Linked DNA regions of Homo sapiens: region 1 is linked to region 2. The links are contacts of gene promoters, found by promoter capture Hi-C in blood cells and fetal thymus (Javierre and others, 2016). All regions are on one chromosome and are shown on one strand. The core of a region is centred on a gene start or on the middle of the fragment in contact, and the rest is flanking DNA. Distances in the headings are between cores, read along the strand shown.

The links. Contacts are between HindIII fragments. The CHiCAGO score rates a contact against its expected background, and 5 or more counts as called.
Region 1: a contact is called between a fragment that was not itself captured here and the fragment with the promoter of TAF1C in region 2, in 2 of 17 cell types (total CD8 T cells and naive CD8 T cells). The highest score is 5.3, in total CD8 T cells.

The regions. Positions count from the first base shown.
Region 1 is chr16:84,099,470-84,104,099 of GRCh38, forward strand. It overlaps MBTPS1 (membrane bound transcription factor peptidase, site 1), which reads right to left. Exons shown (of 23, transcript NM_003791.4): 2 at 2,152-2,638. The coding sequence starts at 2,314. Among named protein-coding and RNA genes, the nearest start is that of MBTPS1, 15 kb to the right of the region's middle. The HindIII fragment of the contact is 207 bases long and covers 2,100-2,306 here.
Region 2 is chr16:84,184,819-84,189,174 of GRCh38, forward strand. TAF1C (TATA-box binding protein associated factor, RNA polymerase I subunit C) reads right to left here and starts at 2,239. Exons shown (of 15, transcript NM_001243156.2): 1 at 2,083-2,239; 2 at 33-242. The coding sequence starts at 170. RefSeq lists an enhancer at 2,079-2,579 and a silencer at 2,225-2,434. The HindIII fragment of the contact is 17,434 bases long and covers 1-2,587 here.

The DNA of each region.
Region 1 (4,630 bases), core at 953-3,452, 85 kb before region 2:
TCTGCAGAGCTTTGAGGAAAAATGATCTATATGGGGCTGGGCGCGGTGGCTCACGCCTGTAATCCCAGCACTTTGGGAGGCTGACGTGGGCAGATTACGAGGTGAGGAGTTTGAGACCAGCCTGGCCAACATAGTGAAACCCCATCTCTACTAAAAATACAAAAAATTAGCTGGGTGTGGTGGTGGGCGCCTATAATCCTGGGAGGCTAAGGCAGGAGAATCACTTGAACCTGGGAGGCGGAGATTGCAGTAAGCAGAGATTGCACCACTGCACTCCTGCCTGGTGACAGAGCAAGCCTCCGTCTCAAAAAAAAAAAAAAAAAGATCTCTATGAATCACCTAACCACAAAGAATACATCATTCGAAACCAGATACCCGTGATATTTTTTTAAAAAGCAAATACCTACAGAAGTTTGAATACACAACAAAGAAATGTATATAATTTTTATCAAGTAGGAAAAAGAAATTCAGAGAACTGAATGCTCAGTTAGTGTTTCTTAAAACGAAAACAGTAACAAAATTCCAGAGTGGATTATGTGAGACTATTTGCTCAGTTCTTCACATCTGGTCACTCAAACTTTAGAACATAAACATTCTGCACCTCCCAGCTCCCCACCTTCACCAATTACAATGGCACCTGTTCCAAAGAATCAAGGTGTAGGCTGGGCACAGTGGCTCATGCCTATAATCCCAGCATTCTGGGAGGTCGAAGTGGATGGATTGCTTGAGCTCAGGAGTTTAAGACCAGCCTGGGCAACATGGTGAAACAAAAAATAAAAAAATTAGCTGGGCAGGCCGGGCACAGTGGCTCATGCCTGTAATCCCAACACTTTGGGAGGCCAATGCAGGAGGATCACCTGAGGTCAAGAGTGCAAGACCAGCCTGACCAACATGGAGAAACGCAGTCTCTACTAAAAAGACAAAATTAGCCGGGCATGGTGGCACATGCCTGTAATCCCAGCTACTCGGGAGGCTGAGGCAGGAGAATCGCTTGAACCTGGGAGGTGGAGGTTGCGGTGAGCTGAGATGGTGCCATTGCACTCCAGCCTGGGCAACAAGAGTGAATCTCCATCTCAAAAAAGAAAAAAGAAAAAACAAAAATAAAAAAATTAGCTGGGCACGGTGGCAGGTGCCTGTAGTCCCAGCTACTCAGGAGGCTGAAGTGGGAGACCACTTGTGCCTGGGAGGCCAAGGCTGCAATGAGCTGAGATGGCACCACTGCACTCCAGCCTGGGCGACAAGAGCAAAACTCTGTCTCCAAAAGAAAAAGAAAAGAAGGTGTAGGTAAATAATTCATGTCAATTTCCTTTTATCATATAAGCTTACTCTACTGGGAAAACAAACTTAAGCAAAGTTAACATTCATGTGCTGTGCACTCAACCCATTGGAAATTTACTACAGAAGGCCAGGCACGGTGGCTCATGCCTGTAATCCCAGCACTTTGGGAGGCCAAGGAGGGTGATCACTTGAGGTCAGGAGTTCAAGACCAGCCTGGCTAACATGCTGAAACCCCGTCTCTACTAAAAATACAAAAAAAAAAAAAAAAAAAGGCCTGGCACGATAGTTCATGCCTGTAGTCCCAACACTCTGGGAGGCCAAGGCAGGCGGATCACGAGGTCAGGAGCTCGAGACCAGCCTGGCCAATGTGGTGAAACCCCATCTCTACTAAAAATAGAAAAAATTAACTGGGAGTTGTGGCGGGTGCCTGTAGTCCCAGCTGCTCAGGAGGCTGAGGCAGGAGAACTGCTTGAACCTGGGAGGTGGAAGTTGCAGTGAACCGAGATCGTGCCATTGCACTCCAGCCTCAGCAACAGAGTGAGACTCCATCTCAAAAACAAAACAAAACAAAACAGAACAAATCAAAACAAAAAATTAGCCAGGGACGGTGGCAGTCACCTATAATCCCAGCTACTTGGGAGGCTGAGGCATGAGAATTGCTTGAATCCAGGAGGTGGAGGTTACAGTGAGCCGAGATCATGCCACTGCACTCCAGCCTGGGTGACAGAGTGAGACTCTGTCTCAAAAAAAAAAAAAAGAAAGAAATTTACTGTAGAAAAGAGGAACATGTTATTCAGCAATAGCTAATTTTATATTAAGTAAGCTTTAAAAAAATAGGATGGGAGTTCCTAATACTTAAGACAACATCATTACCATATTCCACAACTGTTGATGAGAATTCCACCTTCAAAGTCAGGTGGGAACAGCCAGGGCATGGGGCCTTTTCAAAAGATTTCTTTTCCAGTCTGTCGCCCAGATGTTTCTTCCCACAGAGCAAAACCACGAGCAGAAGCAGCCAGATGTTGACAAGCTTCATGGTCACAAGCGAATATGATCATAAAATTGCATATATTCAAATCACACTTTTTTCTTCTTGATTAAAAGTGAATTTTTGTTTCAGCTAAAAGCTGCAACATTACTAATCAGCCATCTTACAGTCTTGCCCAACATAAATAAAAGTTAAATCCCATGGCCTTTTGTGGTTCAGCCTGAAGAGAGGCTTTCATTTCTTTCTCCGCTTCTTCTCCATCTTGGAAATAAGGCTTCTCTCACTCAGGCCGTGACGACTGAGTCCTGTACTCCATTTGTACCACAGAACCAACGTCCAATGGGGTTGATCAATCAACCACTGTGAGCCAATCTATGAAACAAAAAACAGTGCACACAGACATTAGTAGCAAACTGACATAGCCAGGTATGATTTAGTTGTATTTATAATTTAAGCAAGTGGGTCAGCCAGGCAAGGTGGCAGGTGCCTGTAGATCAGCTGCTTGGGAGGCTGAGGTGGGAAGATCACTTGAGCCCAGGAGTCTGAGTCCAGCCTGAGCAACAAAGTGAGACCCTATGTCTAAAATAATAAAATAATAAAATAAATAAGAGGGTAAAAGAGATATCCTGGTTTTAAGACAAATTAATGTGCCATACAACCATGAAACATATTATTTCATTTTTATTTACTTATTACTCACTGCTTTCACGGGAAAATTTTTTTTAGGCATCTTCAAAAATAAAACAATAAAATCAATGAGAAAAATGGAAAAAAGTAAGGACAACAAAATAACACCAAAAATATTAAGCACACTGGACCTGAGCATTCTAGCAGCCAAAGAGAAGAAGGCATCAGGATGATCCTTTGTTCTGTTTCAGATTCTGTATTTCCTATCATTTGCAACTCAATCCCCAGAGCATTTCCCCAGTTGGCACTTTTACTTCCCACAAATTTCATCAATTTTTCAGGCAAAAGCTTGGTATAAAGCCTTACTTTCTGCTGTAACATTAATACCTAACAGCAAAGTAATTTCCCTATCAGTGATATTTAACACCTTCTTTAAGAAACACTATGCTTTAATATTACATAGTTTGAAATATTTTCTACCAATTCTATGAAAAGAGCATAAAAGGGTTTACTGTCCTGAAATTTATTTTACCTGAAACCTCACACTTAAAGAAATGTAACCTGCTAAATGTGTTATAAAACCAGATTATCTCTTTACTGGAGTGACATGAGAAGACAGTTTGTGAGGGAAACTACTGCTAAAGAAAAATGTCACCTGAATATTAAATTAAGCATGCGCACAGATATCTTCCAAAACATCTGAATTGTAAGAAAAACTGCCATTCTTCACAATGAAAACAGAGCGATAGTAAAGAACAATGCTGGCTGTAGCATAACCAGAAAAACAGTTGCACAGACCATACCCGGGGCGTAAATAATCCAGCAGGGTAGGGGATGGGTAAATGAAGCAAGAGAGGCCTTCCAGTGCTACTTAGGATTTTATTATTATTATTATTTTTTTTTTTTTTTTGAGGAAGGGTCTCACTCTGACACCCAGGCTGGAGTGGGTGGCGCAATCTCTGCACAGTTCACTGCAGCCTCAACTTCCTGGGCTCAAGCAATCCTCCAGCCTCAGCCTCCCGAGTAGCTGGGACTATAGGCATGCATCACCACACCCAGCTAATTTTTGGATTTTAATATAGAGAAGCAGTCTCGGCATTTTGTCCAGGCTGGTCTCAAACTCAGGTGATCCAGCCACCTTGGCCTCCCAAAGTGTTGAGATTACAGACAAGAGCCGCCATGTCCGCCCACTACTTGTTTTTAAAAAGAAAACATTAAGGACAAGGAGTTAAGTCATCTATTACAAAAGGTACTTCAAGCTGTAAAACTCATTCTTCTGGCAGAAACTGGTGCTTCTGAGTTTTTGGTTTCTGGAAATATCAATATGTGCTTCTACGAGTAGAAAAACATTGATAAAGTACCGTGAGGGGTTAAAATATCCAAAAAACGTTTTTACTTTTACTAAAGAGGGACTTTCACTGCTGTACTAACAACTGATCCTGAAAAACAAGCCCATCTCTGGCACTGGCACTGGCAACTAAGGGGCGTGGAACTCATCAGAAATGAGTCAAAGTTTAAAGCAGTTACATCCACCTCGACAAGAACAACAATAACAATGCCAACTGCAAGAGCAAAAACAAAGAGCCAAACAGAAAGATCAGAAAAGCAGAGGGCACCTAAAGCCACCCTAACAGGTTTGACAGAAGTTTGCTCAGGAGTAAGCCCCTACTTCTTAGTTTCTTTATGCTTGATACATCCAGCAATGGAGTACCAAAGAAAATAATGACATGAAGCATG
Region 2 (4,356 bases), core at 989-3,488:
GAGCTGCCAGGGCCCCCTGCCTGCATCCTCACCTCTGAGTTCTGGGGCTGGGCCTCTGGCAGAGTCAGTGCGTCTCGCCAGCTGCACATGAAAGAGAGGTCAGGGACGTCGCTCAGACCAAGGGGGCCGGTCAGAAACAATGCAGGGCGGAGGGAGCTGGGGAAGTCCATCCTGGAAACAAGGACCAAGCACCACACTGGCCACCTCGAGAGACTGGAAGCTGGTAAGGGGCGCCAGAGTTCCTGAGGAGTGAAAAGTGCACTACGGGAAGCATATGTTCTTTGAGGAAGCAGATAACAAAAAACAAATATGTAGCCCAAGGCCAAGCAGTAGTGAGAACTGTATTAAAGCCAACCACCCGTCCAGGAGAAGGGGATCTGGTAGTGGGCTGAGGGCGTGGTTTCAGCAAAGCCAGCCAGGAAAAGCCTCGTTGAGAAGGTGGCGTTTGAGCACAGCCTGAACCTAGTGAAGGAGAGAACCATGTACGCAACTGGGAAGAGGGTTCCAGGCCGAACGGTCAACAACTGTGAAAATCCTAGAGCAGTGAAGTGTGTGAGAAAATGAGGCAGCCAGAGTGAGCGAGGTGGAGAGCGGTGGAGATGGAGTCAGAAAGACGGCAAGGGGCAGCCTCTCTCCCGGCTCGTAAGTACCGTCATCATACATTTACAGACTACACCCCCAAGACGCTCAAGTTACTCCACAGCCAGGGACTGCATCTGAGCATCGTCTTCCTACTGTCAAGCACAGTGCCTCCCAGAAAATGCACTAGGGGTTGAAAAAAATAAATTTCTATCACAAGGGGCCGGGCGCGGTGGCTCACGCCGGTAATCCTAGTACTTTGGGAGGCCGAGGCAGGCGGATCACCTGAGGTCGGGAGTTCGAGACTGGCCTGACCAATGTGGAGAAACCCGGTCTCTACTAAAAATACAAAATTAGCCGGGCGTGGTGACGCATGCCTGTAATCCCAGCTACTCGGGAGGCTGAGGCAGGAGAATTCCTTGAAGCCGGGAGGCGGAGGTTGCGGTGAGCTGAGATCGCGCCATTGCACTGTAGCCTGGGCAACAAGAGCGAAACTCCATCTCAAGAAAAAAAAAAATTACATCACAAGGCTTTGGTAAATACAGTCCTCTAGAAGTATGAGCAGCCATAGCATCCCTCCTTTTTAATTAACAAAAATAACAGGGGCAAAAATAACAGCAGCGCTCGCTGACCAAGCGCCAGCATCTATCTGCCAGGCACATGCTAAATGCTGCACTCTTCTATCGCCGTCCCTGTTAACAGAGTTCAGGAAACGAAGGCTCAGCAAGAACTTTAGTCCAACAGCTCTTAGCTGCCACAGCCAAGACTTGATTCCCATCCGATTCAGAGGCAGAGCTCCGAACCAGTGCTCTCGCATGCACCGAAATGCAAACGCTAGCATTAGAGTCTCGCTATACAAAAATCTTTTCCCTTTGGCCGGGTGCGGTGGCTCCCGCCTGCAATCCCAGCACTTTGGGAGGCCAAGGCGGGCGGATCACCTGAGGCCAGAAGTTTGAGACCAGTCCGGCCAATACAGTGAAACCCTGTCAATACTAAAAATACAAAAATTAGCCGGGCGTGGTGGTGTACACCTGTAATCGCAACTACCGAGGAGGCTGGGCACGAAAATCGCTTGAATCTGGGAGGCAGAGGTTGCAGTGAGCCAAGATCATGCCACAGCACTCCAGCCTGGGTGACAGAGCAAGGTTCTATCTCAAAAATAAAATAGAAACAAAAATATTTTCTCTTGGAACCGCATAGCCTGAAACGATCCTAGACAGGCGGAGGGCGCTGGTGGAGAGCACGACCCCACAAAAGCCCTCAGACAAGGCAGCCTCGACTTCCCCGGCCGGCTTCCCGCCCTCGCTGCGGGCTCTCCAGGACCCTTTAGACCTCCAAGGCTACAGAACTCAGTCGGATCCGCAATAACGACAGGCCGGGGACTGCGAAACGTGAGCCTGCCGCGGGGACTGGGGATTGGGGGCGTCCCTCCCCTCCTACATCTGCGGGTCCGCTCCTCGAACACGCGCAGTCCGCGCGGAGGGGGCGCATGCGTGCACTTACGTGACCCCGGCCTCGTCGTGGTCGTCTGGAAAATGGGCCTCGGCGTGATGCTCGCCGGACCCTGGCACCACGAGGGAAATCTCAAGTAGAACCCCAGCTTTGGCACTCGGGACGGGTCAGCCCCGCCGCAGCTACCCACGGTCTTCCGGTTTGGACCGGAAGTGCCTCCTGCGGAGGCAGGAAGTCCCGCCTCCCAGCCAGGCCTCTTAGGGTCCTGGCGCGCCCCCTCCCGGGAGGAGAGGGAACGGGCGTGCAGGCGGCGCGTGGGCAGCGGAAATAAAGCTCCCTTGAGTCCCAATAGTGGAGGCCGGGTGGACTTAGGTTCGAATCCCACATCTACTTCACCAATTTCCTCAGAGTTGTATTAAATTAATCATTTAACGAACTCCCACAGAACACCTACTATAAGCCAGACCTGTATTGGTCAGTAGGTATCCTACTGATTGTCCTTAAATCCCAAGAAGCGGGCTTTACAAATAAGGGTACAAATACCTACTAAGAGTGAAGCTTTTCCAGGGGTGGTCAGGCAGGGAGAGCTTTAGGCAGTGGTCTTCAAACTCTAGCTAGCGTGCGTCAGCAGTAGCACCTGGGGGGCTAGTTAAAACACAGTCTCCAATTCGGTGAGTCTGGGGTGGGACCTGATGATTTGCCTAAGTTCCCAGGTGATGCTGAAACTGCTTATCTGGGGGCCATGCTTTAAGAACCACTGTCCAGTCATGAACCTTACCGTTATCCTAACATAGTACTTCTCAAACTTCAGTGAGCCTTAGAACCACCTGGGGGGCTTGTTACAAGTTTGCTAGGCTCCACCCTACCTCTGCCCCCCGAGTTGCTGATTCAGTAGATCTGGGATGTGGCCCAAGAGTCTGCATTTCTAGCAAGTTCCCAGATGATGCTGGTCCAGGGGCCATACTTTGAGAACCGTTGCTTTAAAGAATCAATTTCCAAATTCTCAGCTGTCATCTATGTCTTTATTTATTTTTTTGAGATGGAGGCTAGAGTGCAGTGGCACGATCTTGGCACACTGCAACCTCCGCCTCTTGGGTTCAAGCAATTCTTCTGCCTCAGCCTCCCGAGTAGCTGGGATTACAGGCCTGCGCCACCATGCCCGGCTAATTTTTGTATTTTTAGTAGAGACGGGGTTTCACCATGTTGGTCAGGCTGAGTCTTGAACTCCTGACCTCAAGTGATCCGCCTGCCTAGGCCTCCCAAATTGCTGGGATTACAGGATGAGCCACCACGCCTGGCCTATATTGTTTTTATCTGGAAGTTTTTACCTGGACTAAAAGTGCCAGCAGGGCTGTGTTCCTTTTGAGAGGCTCTAAGGAAGAGTCCACTATCTTGTCTTTTCTGGCTTCTGGAAGCTGCCTGCATTCCTTGGCTCATGACCCCTTTCCATCTTCAAAGCCAGCAATGCCAGTCGGATTCTTCTCATGAGGCCATCTCTCTGGTTTTTACTCTTCTGTCTCCCTCTTTCCCATGTAAGGACCCATGTGATTATAGTAGGCCCGCCCAGGTAATCCAGGATAATCTCCCTATTTTATTTGTTTTATTTATTTTTTTGAGACAGGGTCTCACTCTGTCGCCCAGGCTAGGGTGCAGTGGTACCATCATGGCTCATTGCAGCCTCAACTTCCCAGGCTGAGATGATTCTCCCACCTCAGTCTCTCGAGTAGCTGGGATTACATGCAAGCACCACCATGCCTGGCTAATTTTCTTTTTTTTTTTTTATTTTGAGACAGAGTTTCACTCTGTCACCCAGGCTGGAGTGCAGTGGCGTGATCTTGGCTCACTACAACCTCCACCTTCCAGGTTCAAACGATTTTCCTGCCTCAGCCTCCCGAGTAGCTGAGACTACAGGTGCCTGCCACCACACCCAGCTAATTTTTGTATTTGTAGTAGGGACGGGGTTTCACCATATTGGCCAGGCTGGTCTTGAACTCCTGACCATGTGATCCACCCGCCTTGGCCTCCCAAAGTGCTGGGATTACAGGCATGAGCCACCACGCCCGGCCTAATTTTTGTAGTTTTTGTAGAGATGGGATTTCATCATGTTGCCCAAGTTGGTCTCTAACTCCTGGGCTCAAGCTACCTTCCCACCTGGGCCTCCCAAAGTGCTGGGGTTACAGGTGAGAGCCCTATTTTAAAGGCAGCTGATTAGCAACCTTACTTCCACCTGCAACCTTAATGCCCCCTTGCCAAATAATATACTCATAGGTTCTGGGGATTAGGCTGTAGACATCTTTGGGGGAACCATTATTTTGCCTACCACAC